2 separate regions of the Homo sapiens genome follow, and region 2 is linked to region 1. Evidence: promoter capture Hi-C in human tissues and cell types (Jung and others, 2019). All regions are on one chromosome and are shown on one strand. The core of a region is centred on a gene start or on the middle of the fragment in contact, and the rest is flanking DNA. Distances in the headings are between cores, read along the strand shown.

Region 1 (5,972 bases), core at 1,905-4,404:
CTTCGATTAAAATTACAAAAGAGACAAAAAATAGTTTTGAGTGTTGTGGAAGCTGAGTGTTGGGGTAAGAAGAGTAGGTGTCTGCACTTTGCTATAGACTCCTGATGATAGTGAGGAGAAGTGGAGAGCTGTGTGGACTTGGTCCAAGAGTATGGGGCTGTCTTCAGACATCTGCTGTGGAAGCCAGGTGTAACTCTGACTTTCCAGAGCATCTTACAAAACCAGTTCTCCAAAGCGCAGGCTTTGGAAAACCTTGCCCTGACTACTAAAAGAGGAAGAGCAACTGACATTTATTCTATACCCATTGTGTACTAGGCACTGTGCTTCTTGTGTATATTATAAAATATAACCACTATAGCATCTGTACTTAGTGTGAATTATTTTTATGAAAACCACTTTGCTGATGCGAAAACAGACCTCTCATGCTCATTAGGTGTCTTTCACAGCTTGTTTTTTAGCATCACAAGACGACACCCTGCATTGAGGAACAAAAGTCCTGAGGTGTAGGAGAGCAATGACTTTAGAGTACTGGGATTCTGTGGGGATGGAGGGTATACCCCTTTTCACTCCATCCGCTTCTACAAGACAAGTGTTTTCAGAAGAGAGAAAACATTTCATTATAATGAAGGCATGAATAAAACTAGTCTGAGTGCTGGATCCAAGGGGCCTGGGGCCAAGGTGTGTGCCAGGCAGGACCCTAGAACCAGAACTGCTTTAGAGGGCAAGTCCAGGAACCAGGGCACAACATCATCATGACACAATGTTTCATGTCCTCCAAAGACACAACGTTAAAATAGCCTTTTCCAGTGCAACCTGGTCTTAAATGGGATGTTTCAGGCAAAATCACAATCAGGGATTTTCCTAAAGGAGCTGTTACCTTCAAATGCATCAAGACACGAAAATCCAGAAGTAGAAAAATCAACCCACTTTAAAAAAATATCTTCCACGGACAAGATAGGAGAATAATTTAAGGAAGATACAGCATAGCATAAAGAACGTTGATCACGTTTAAAGTTTGTTTCATGGTTTTCTGAACTTCCATCACTTGGAGAAACAATCCATTATTCTGCAACAGTTTAGGGGAGGTTCTCAAAAAGGTAACCGTTTGAGAACTCAGTGAATTGCCAGCACATTTTGCAGTTGGAAGCTCAAATTTTTATAAATAACATGCGGGGAATCCAGATAGGATTTATTTTTTAATTTCACAATTGTATTTCCAATGCTGGATTCATAGGCACTTCCTTGTCATAGTAGCAGCACATTAATTTTAGCCTAAATAATTATTTAAATTATTTAACTATTTAAATTATTTAACTATTTAAATAATTATTTTACTAAGAAGAATCCACGAAATGAAAATGAGCACGTTCACTAATTTTCATATTGCCTGACCATCTCATAGCACCATGGTCACAGACTGCAAAGCCTCTCACCGGAACAAGACAGACCAGCAAGGAAGTGTAGGTTCAACAGCACATGAGAATCATAACTTTTAGTGCCAGAGTGTCTGAACCAGAGAGGAGGGAAAATGAGAGGCCAAGAGTTGTCTCCATTTTCTTCTCTTCACAGTATCCTGCATAGTGGCACAAATCGAACTGGAAAGCCCAAGCTAACAACACCGCCCTGGGCGAACCGCCTGTCTCCACCGGCTCCTCTGGGCAGGAGGCTCCAGCCTGGGGGTGCCTGACAGCTCTCCTTCCCCGGCGCCTGTATTATACATGTAACATTTATATTTCTATCCACACAGCGTTCATTCAGCCATCCATTCAATCACCCAGGCATATTTACACGGATGGAACACATTCGCGGAGAGATGTGTGTGTTTGAGTTCCAATCACTGCAGCCCGTATTGGCGCGGCGCTTTGTCTCGCTTTGGGTCACCACCACAGGAGCAACGATTTCGGGGACGGCACACGCCTGTGTGACCGCTTCCCACTCCACTTGGGTTCCGTGAGCGCGCGGAGCCGGAGGAGTCAGGGACGTGAGGATGCCCTACTTCCCGCAGCATCCGGATGGCAGGGTCTGCGTCGGAAGGCCCGGGAGGGCGACGCCCTCCACTGCTGCCGCGGGGTGGGTGCGCCAGGCCTGGGTGTGGCCTCACGGGAGCGAGTTTCTCTCCAGCCGCCTGGCCCACCGCTTTGGAACAGTGAAGCTCGAGTTGGGGTCTCCTGCACGCCAAGGGGAGAAATGTTTGTTTCTGACAACACAAGCAAAATTCTCTCTCCTGCACGCCAAGGGGAGAAATGTTTGTTTCTAACAACACAAGCAAAATTCTCTCTCTCTCTCCCTCTCTCTCTCTCTTCTCTCCTCTCTCTTTCTCCCTCCTCCTCCTTTCTTTCTTTCTCTTTTTCTTTCTTTCTTTCTTTCTTCCTCCTCCTCCTCTCTCTCTCTCTATCTCTCTCTCCACCCCCCCCCCCTCATATTTGGTTGTTTCCCCTCTAAGGGGCCACTTTCAATATCTGCCTGTGAGCCCAGCTGTCTGGCCCTATGTAGCATTGGGGAGACAGTAGACTTAACCCAGCGAAGTTTTCTTCTGTTTGCTCTTGCTGTGCCCAAGTTTCCTCTGGACTTGTCTTCCAGCGTCGGGGTGGGGGCTGGGGGAAGTAGGCAACCTAGCTCTGCCTGGTTGCTCCCTGGAAGCCAAGTCGAAGTGAACAAGTCAGTCCCAGGCCCGGAAATAGAATACAAACCCTCTTTTTGTCCGGTGCTAACAGAGTCCAGCAGTCAGAACTCCCTCGCGTCTCACGCTGGACCTGACCCGGGGCGCCGCCAAGTGCGCAACGCACAGTCACAGTTGGTGACTAATTAAGGACTGCCGCCCCTCTCCTTCACCTGCTACAAACTCAGAGCCCTGACTTCTCCAGAAGTACCTACCACTTGGAGGTGGCTCTCCTTCCCCGCCCCCTGCCCCAGTCCCACACCGCAGCAGCGCCTCAGCACCGCGACTTGCCGGAGCACCGCGAGTGGCGCGCGGGTCCCGCCTCCCCCGCGCGCCGTGACTCCCTGCGCACCGCTGGTACTCTCGCCACGCCGCCGCCCGGCACTGCAGCACCAGGGGGAGGAGGCAGGCGGAGGAGAGGAGGAGGACCGCAGCGTGCAAGCCGGGAGCCACTTTCCCGCCCCTCCTCTCGCCGCTGACACGCTCAGAGGAGTCACCACTCCGCGCGCTGCAGGCGAGAGTGGCAGACGGAGGCAGCCCGGGGAAGCGAGCCGGAGCGGCGCCCGCACTGAGGCGGCTGCAGTGCTGACACCACTCAGGGCAAGGGTGTCCGACGGCTGGAGCGGTGAGTGGGGGAGGTGAAGCGGGCATCCGCGGGGAGACTTTCCCCCGCTGCTGGATTTCTCTTCCCGACTGGTGGCCGGGCGCTGCAGCCTGGGGAAGTTTTTGCAGCCTTTCGGAAGCGCAACTTTGCCCCGCCTGCCCCCGGGGAAGCGGCTGCAGGTGCCCGCTGCTTTGTAGGCGCCTTTGTTGGAGAGGGACCAGGAAAGTAGGGGTAAAATAGATGCAGTGACCCCAGGGTTCGCTAGGGTAGGTCTGGGGACTGGGTCGCACTTTATCTGGGATTCCCAGAGGAGGTGGGTGGGCAGCAGCGGGGATGCAGGGGCCGCATCTGCAGCGACCGCCACGCTCTTTTTTGCTTGTGTGGTTTGACCGGCAGGGATAGGCAGATTCAAATCTAGCAGCCTAGAGCCCCGGGCTGGGTACCTGGACCTATACCTTCATAGCTGCCTTAGGCTCAACTTTTCGGCGGGGATCCCTCTGCAGACGTGCAGGTGGCGGGAGAGCAGAGGTAGCCGCAGTAAGTGCTGAGAGAGCCTGAAAGAAACACCATGAATTTTCAAACTCTCCCACATACATTCCCGAAGCGCCTGTCTGGCGTCTAAGAGAGAGCAAGAGAGGGCTGGAGAGCAGGGGAGCCCGCGGGGCTGAGGCTCTTTGTCAGCGCCTGCACTTCCTACGTTACAACGCCTTCATTCAGCAAAAACCTTTTGGGCGCCTGCTGTGCGCCAGGCCAGGCGAAGCAGACCCGAGGCTGTGAAGCTCAGAGGGGAGAGGGACCAATCGCAGTAAATAAGCTACCGAGGTAATCTTAGATGGCGATGAGGGCAGCAAAAGCCATCAGCCGACCCTCTGACCCTTTCTCTTAGTGGGCTTTTCCCCTTCCGCCTGGGTTCTAGAACTGGGAAGACTTTTCTCCAGAGCGTCGCGGGGAGCGCCCCGGGCTGGGCCCACGGGGACTGCGGAATACGGGGATGAACTTGGCTTGGGGCAGCCAGCACCCCACGGCAGATGAACAATCGGGAGCAGATCTGTGGGCGTGCGGGGACCTTAGGCGGCGCGCGGGGGCGGGGGGAGGGGCTGAGCCACGGGGGCTAGAGGTGCCGCCTGGACGGCCTGAGCTGGGGGCGCTCGCGTCACCTTCTACGTGTGCGAGTGATGCAAATGCAGACCCGCGAGGGGCGGGCGGGGGTGGCGGGCGGGGGCAGGCGACGGAGTCTCCGTCTGGGAGCGCGCGTGTGTGCGTCAAAAGCTCTGGGTTGATGGATGCCCCGCGGCGCGCCTGGCGCGGAGAGCGGCGACCCGGCGGGGCAGAGGGGGGCGGGAGGACTGCGGCGGCGCGGGGCGGCGAGGAAAGCCCCGCACGGCCTGGGCTGGCGGGCAGGCGGCTCCGCAGTGCGCCGCAGTGCCGGGAAGGAGCCGCAGCTACCGGGCGCTCCCCGGGGGACCGAGGAGATGAGGCGTCTTTTAAGGCTCATGAGAGCCTTAAGGAGATGAGACCGGGATGCCGTGATGGTCTCCTCTCCCGCTGAACCTAATCCCTTCATACTTAGCTGACTGCTAGCGCGGTAGCTTCCGTTTAATTCTTATCCTTAATTCTGAAGAATGTGGCATTAATCTCTCAGGCGTTCACTCATTTTCCATGGCAAGTTCCGAAAGGCCTCGTGCTCGTGGGAAGTTTTCATGTGAACGCCTAGGTGTTGAGGTTCGTGAGGTTCTGTAGTGCCAACCCGTTGCGCCACCATTCTGCAGGATTTTTGGCAGGAGGCCTGGCCTCTAAGTGAGGTTTAAGAATGTCTTACAAAACAATATGCCGCATTCCTCTTTCATGGCATAAAAATACGCGTTAAAAAACACTACTGATAACGCATTCTCTGGTGGAAAATAATAAATCAAATCCACGATCCATTTTATTCTTTTTTTTAAAGACCACTTTCTGGAAACCCAGTGACAAAGTTTTTCTACTGGCTTTACTGAAGGAGCCCAAATCTGCAGTATGTAGGCAAAATGAATGAAAGGGGACGGGGTTGGGAAAAAAGAAAGAAAGGAAGGGAGGGAGGAAGAAAAGCAATTATCAAGGAACCCAGAGACACAGATGCTAGTCACCATTTCCCCAAATATTGTGTTATGTCACCTTGGGCAGGTTACTCACCCTCTTGGGTTCATCTTCCACCTCTGAGAATTGTGAAAAATAGCTTATACTAGCTCTTATGTACCTTACAGGGTTGTTTTGAAGACAAAAGAGATAATCTCAGAGAGCTTTGGCTTTGGAAATACAAATTTTCCATGAATGGAAAATATTAGCAAACAAAGCCCCTACACACACACACACACACACACACACACACACAGAATTTTCTTTTAAAAAATTCTAGAGACTTTTCCCAGCATTGTTTTTTTAATGAAATTTGGCCCTCAATGTGAGCAAATGCAGACAGCAGACTTTTCCTAACAGTCTAATATGTAATCCAATGCCATTAGCTACTGACTGTCTGGAGAAGGAAAAAAAGAAGCTCTGGATCACATCTGAGTGTTTTGTTCATGTAGTGGAGAAATCAGCTTTATTTTTCATGACCCAATGACAGTGAAAGTAGCTTCTCTGATCTGAGCAGCAGACTGGCCTAACAGCTTGTAGTAAAACTCCTATTCATTATTAACCCTATCATATTCCTTAAGTGTGGAAATGCTTCAA
Region 2 (5,972 bases), core at 1,914-4,413, 100 kb before region 1:
CCATATTGCTGCATAGCAGAGTCAATTCTCAGTCCTGTTCTTATTCCATCTATCAACAGCTTCTGACTCACCTGGCTGCTCCCAATTTTTGAGTGATTTCTTAGGCTATGCAACACCATTTCTCTTGGCCCTCCTTATACCACACTAGCTGTACTTTGTAGCTCTTCTTCGCTGGATATTCCTCTCCTTCTTATTCTCCAAATATTGAAATGTCTCAGGGATTGGCTCTGAGACCTCTCTTCTACATACTCTAACCACATAGACAATGTCAAATAGTCACGTGTCCTCAAATATCTTCTGTAGTCTAATCACTCTAAAATTTATTATATTCCATCAATTCTAAGACACACTGTTTTTCACACTTTATTGCATTTGAAATTGGGCTGTGTCTTACAATTGATGCCCATCTTATAATCTTTGTCATCTAGGAAGGGGTAATGAAGTAGTTGCTCTTATCCACACAAATATATATGTTTCCACAAAAATTTAAATATATTATTGTTTAGATTATTAATAATTTAGTTCAGTTATATGTACAGTGGCTATTACTCATGTTGGTACCACACACAACACACTGCAACTGAATGGAGAGAAATTGCCAAATACCTTGAAAGAGGTGAAAGATATTTCAAGTAAAGAGGGTCTGACCCATTCGTATGCTGTCTTCAAGAGACTCATGTCAGGGCTGGGTGCAGTGGCTCATACCTGTAATTCCACCACTTTGAGGCTTAGGAGGATAGATGGCTTGAGGCTGAGGCAGGAGGATTGCTTGAGCCTGGGAGGCAGGGGTTGCAGTGGGCTGAGGTCATGCCACTGCACTCCAGCCTGGGCAACAAAGCACGACCCTGTCTCAAGAAAAAAAATAAAAATGCAATGACACACGTAGCCTCTAAATAAAGAGATAGTGGAAAATCTACCAAGCAAATGAAAAGCAGAAAAATGCAGGAGGGATTGCAATCCTAGTTTCTGACAAAACTGACTTTAAATCAACAAAGATAAAAAAAGAAGGGCATTACATAATGGTCAAGTGTTCAATTCAACAAGATGATCTAACTGTTCTAAATATATATGCACCCAACACAGGTGCACCCAGATTCATAAAGCAAGTTCTTAGAGACCTTAAAGAGGGTTAGACTTCCATATAGTAATAGTGGGAGACTTTAACACCGCACTGTCAATATTATACAGATCACTGAGACAGAAAATTAACAGAAATATTCATGACCTGAACTCAGCACTGGATCAAATGGACCTGATGCCTACAGAATTCTCCACCCCAAAACAACACAATATACATTCTTCTCATAATCACATGGCACTTAGTCTAAAATTGATCACATAATTGGAAATAAAACACTCCTCAGAAAATGCAAAAGAACTGAAGTCATAGCAAACGGCCTCTGGGATCACAGCACAATGAATTAGAAATAAAGACTAGGAAATTCACTTAAAGCCTTACAATTACATGGGAACTGAATAACCTGATCCTGAATGACTTTTGGGTAAATAATGAAATTAAGGCAGAAATCAAGAAGTTCTTTGAAACTAATGAGAACGAAGATACAACATACCAGAATCTCTGGGACACAGCTAAGGAAGTGATAAGAGGGAAATTTATAGCACTAAATGTCCACATCAAAAAGTTAGAAAGATCTCAAGTTAACAACCTAACATCACAACTAAAAAAATTAGAGAACCAAGGGCAGATAAATCCCAAAGCTAGCAGAAGACAAGAAATAACCAAAATCAGAGCTGAACTGAAGGAGATAGAGACACACAAAAAATTCAAAAGATCAGTGATTCCAGGAGCTGTTTGTTTGAAAAAATTAATAATACATAGACTGCTATCTAGACTAATAAGAAAAGACAGAAGACGCAAATAAACACGATCAATATGATAAGGGAGATATTACCACTGACTCCACAGAAATACACACAATCAGAGAATGTTGTGAACATATCTATGCACATAAACGAGAAAATCTAGAAGAAATGGATAAATTCTCGGACACATACATCCTGCCAAAACTGAACCAGGAATAATTGAATCCCTGAACAGACCTGTAAAGAGCTCTATAATTGAGGCAGTAATTAATAGCCTACCATCCAAAAAAAGCTCAGGATCATACAGATTCACAGTTGAATTCTAGCAGACAGACAATGAAGACTGTACTATTCTTATTGCAACTATTCCAAAAAATTGAAAAGGAGGGACTCCTCCCTAACTGATTCTATGAGGCCAGCATTGTCCTGATACCAAAACCTGGCAGAGATACAACAAAAAAAGAAAACTTCAGGCCAATATCCTTGATGAACATCAAGGCAAAAATCCTCCACAAAATACTGGCAAACCAAATCGAACAGCACATCAAAAAGTTTATCCACCACTGTCAAGTAGGCTTCATCCCCGGGATACAAGTTGGGTTCAACATACACAAATCAATACATGTGATTCAACATAAACAGAACTAAAGGAAAAAAAATATGATTATCTCGATAGATGTAGAAAAGGCTTTTAATACAATTCGATGTCCATTCATGTTAAAAACTTGCAATAAACTAGGTATTGAAGGAACATACCTCAAAATAATAAGAGCCATATATGACAAACCCATAACCAACATCATACTGAATGAGAAAAAGCTGAAAGCCTTTCCTCTTGAAAACCGGCACAAGGAAAGGATGCTCTTTCTTACCACTCCTATTCAACACAGTACTGGAGGTCCTGGCCAGGGCAATCAGGCAAGAGAAAGATATAAAGAGCATCCAAATAGGAAGAGAGGAAGTCAAGCTATACCTGTTTGCAGATGACATGATCCTATAGCTAGAAAGCCCCATACTCTCAGCCCAAAAGCTTCTTAAGCTGATAAACAACTTCAGCAAAGTCTCAGGATACAGAATCAATGTGCAAAAATATCACTAGCATTCCTATACATCAAGAACAGTCAAGCCAAGAGCCAAATCAGGAACAAACTCTCACTGACAATTGCCATAAAATGAATAAAATACCTAGGAATACAGGTAACTAGTGAGGTGAAAGATCTCTACAAAGTAAACTATACAAACCACTGCTCAAACAAATCAGAGACTACACAAACAAATGGAAAAACATTCCATGCTCATGGATAGGAAGAATCAATATTATTAAAATGTCTATACTGCCCAAAGCAATTTATAGTGTCAGTGTTCTTCCCATTAAACTACCATTGCCATTCTTCTCAGAGCTAGAGAAAACTATTTTAAAATTCATATGGAACCAAAAAAGAGCCTGAGTAGCCAAGGCAATCCTAAGCAAAAAGAACAAAGTTGGAGGCATCACACTACCCAACTTCAAACTATACTATACAGCTACAGTAAACAAACAACATGGTTCTGGTACAAAAACAGGTACATAGACCAATGGAACAGAATAAAGAACCCGGAAATAAGACCACACGCCAACAACTATCTGATATGCCACAAACCTGACAAAAACAAGCAATGGGGAAAGGACTCCCTATTTGACAAATGGTGCTGGGATAACTGCACTAGCCATGTGCAGAGGATTGAAACTGGACCTTTCCCTTACACCATTTACAAAAATCAACTCAAGATGGATTAAAGACTTAAATGTAAAACCCAAAACTACAAAAACCCTGGAAGACAACCTAGGCAATACTATTCAGGACATAGGCACAGGCAAAGATTTCATGACGAAGATTCCAAAAGCAATTGCAACCAAAGCAAAAATTGATTAATGGGATCTAATTAAACTAAAGAGCTTCTGGACAGCAAAAGAAACTATCAAGAGAGGAAACAGACAACCTACAGAATGAGAGAAAATTTTTGCAAACTATACATCTGACAAGGGTCTAATATTCAGCATCCGCATATTCTCACTCATAGATGGGAATTGAACAATGAGATCACATGGACACAGGAAGGGGAATATCACACTCTGGGGACTGTTGTGGGGTGGGGGGAGGGGGGAGGGATAGCATCGGGAGATATACCTAATGCTAGATGACGAGTTAGTGGGTGCAGCGCACCAGCATGGCACATGTATGCATATGTAACTAACCTGCACAATGTGCACATGTACCCTAAAACTTAATTAAAAAAATAAAAAGAAAAAAAAAAAGAATTTAACAGTTTTGCAAGAAAAAAACCCAACTCCATTAAAAAGTGGGCAAAGGACGTGAACAGACACTTCTCAAAAGAAGACATACACATGGCCAACAATCATATAAAAAAAGTTCAACATCACTGATCATTAGAGAAATGCAAATCAAAACCACAATGAGATACCATCTCACACCCACCAGAATGGCTATTATTTAAAAGTCAAAACACAACAGATGCTGGTGAGATTGTGGAGAAAAAGGAATGCTTTTATGCTGTTGGTGGGAGTGTAAATTAGTTTAGCCATTGTGGAAGACAATATAGTGATTCCTCAAAGATCTAAAGACAGAAATACCATTCCACCCAGCAATCCCATTACTGGGTATATACCCAAAGGAATATAAATCATTCTGTTATAAAGACACATGCACATGTATGTTTATTGTAGCACTATTCACAATAGCAAAGACATGGAATCAACCTAAATGCCCATCAATGATAGACTGAATAAAGAAAATGTGACACATATATACCCTGGAATACTATGCAGTCATAAAAAACAACAAGATCATGTCCTTTGCAGGGACATGGATGGTGCTAGAGACCACTATCCTTAGCAAACTAATGCAGGAACAGAAAACCAAACACCGCATGTTCTCACTTATAAGTGGGAGCTGAATGATGAGAACACATGGACACTTAGAGGCGAACAACACACACTGGAGCCTTTTGGAGGGGGGAGGGTGAATAGTTGGAGGAAGAAGATTAGGAAAAATAACCAATGGGTACTAGGCTTAATATTTGGGTGATGAAATAATCTGTACAACAAACCCTCATGATACAAGTTTACCTATGTAACAAACCTGTAACAAGCAAGTTTACCTATGTAACAAACACAACATAATAATCTGTAATATAAATCTGTACAACAGACCCTCATAACACAAGTTTACCTATGTAACAAACCTGTACTCATACCCCTGAACTTAAAATAACAGTTAAAAAAAAGAGGATCTGGTGTGACTAATCTGCGTGTCACTCGGGACCATCATTATGTGGCCGAAGAGCAGCTGTCAGAAACTTTGAACAGAACTACTTAACTTTCAGCACCAAATGATTCAATTGAGGGAAAAAATATAAGTTTAGAAAAATGACATCAAAAGCTGCAGAAAGAAGGTCTGCGGCTTGGGAGGAAAACTCTGGAGCTGATAGTGGCATTCTTTTAAGAAATGCTGCAATCACCGATGGTCATGAGTGCAGAAGATGATAATTGTAGTGCAAATATCTTGTCTTGTCATTCACAGGTCTCCTAATAAAGAGGAGCCACATCAAAATCTGATGCAGGTTGCAAAATTATGGGCCAGCTTTAAAAAAAAAAAAAAAAGATGTTTTGGCGAACTTTATAGGTGATGAGTGTATTTTGCATGTAGAAGGCATGTGAACAATGGCGGTTGTAGGACAGACTGTGATAGTTGCATTCATAGTCTCATTTGATAGCTTCCTTGTATCTGCGCCCTGTGCCCAGTAACTGCATAGTGCCTTCCCTGCCTCTGAGATTTGCCTTATGACTTGCTTTGGTCGATAGAATGCTAGCAAATGTGACCCAAGGAAAGGACTGAAAAGCACTTGTCCTTTCTGCTCTCCTTCTTGCAATGGTTTGCATTCTAATCCTTTACTCAAACTGTGAGTATATTGCTGCATGTTTGTAATGGAGGGAAATAAGAGACAGATGGAGGAGACAGCTAAAATGCCGAGTTGTCTCAGCCATCTCGGCCAGCCCAGCTACTCCAGCTGAAGCTGTCTTAAGTCAGTCTATAGCCATGTGAGGGAACCCTGCCAAGATCAGAAGAGTGTCTGATCGAACCCCTCCT

The links. The method cuts DNA at HindIII sites, captures the fragments that hold promoters and counts their contacts. A contact is called where the count stands out against the background at its distance.
Region 2: a contact is called between a fragment that was not itself captured here and the fragment with the promoter of SV2C in region 1, in 3 of the 25 tissues and cell types used here (bladder, mesendoderm cells and stomach).

What each region holds. Positions count from the first base shown.
Region 1 is chr5:76,080,229-76,086,200 of GRCh38, forward strand. SV2C (synaptic vesicle glycoprotein 2C) reads left to right here and starts at 3,155. Exons shown (of 13, transcript NM_014979.4): 1 at 3,155-3,284. SV2C-AS1 (SV2C antisense RNA 1) reads right to left here and starts at 3,189. Exons shown (of 2, transcript NR_183290.1): 1 at 2,691-3,189; 2 at 1,178-2,168. RefSeq lists an enhancer at 1,966-2,519. The HindIII fragment of the contact is 16,764 bases long and covers 1-5,972 here.
Region 2 is chr5:75,978,130-75,984,101 of GRCh38, forward strand. It overlaps a transcript of SV2C not described here. Among named protein-coding and RNA genes, the nearest start is that of SV2C, 100 kb to the right of the region's middle. The HindIII fragment of the contact is 9,346 bases long and covers 1-5,972 here.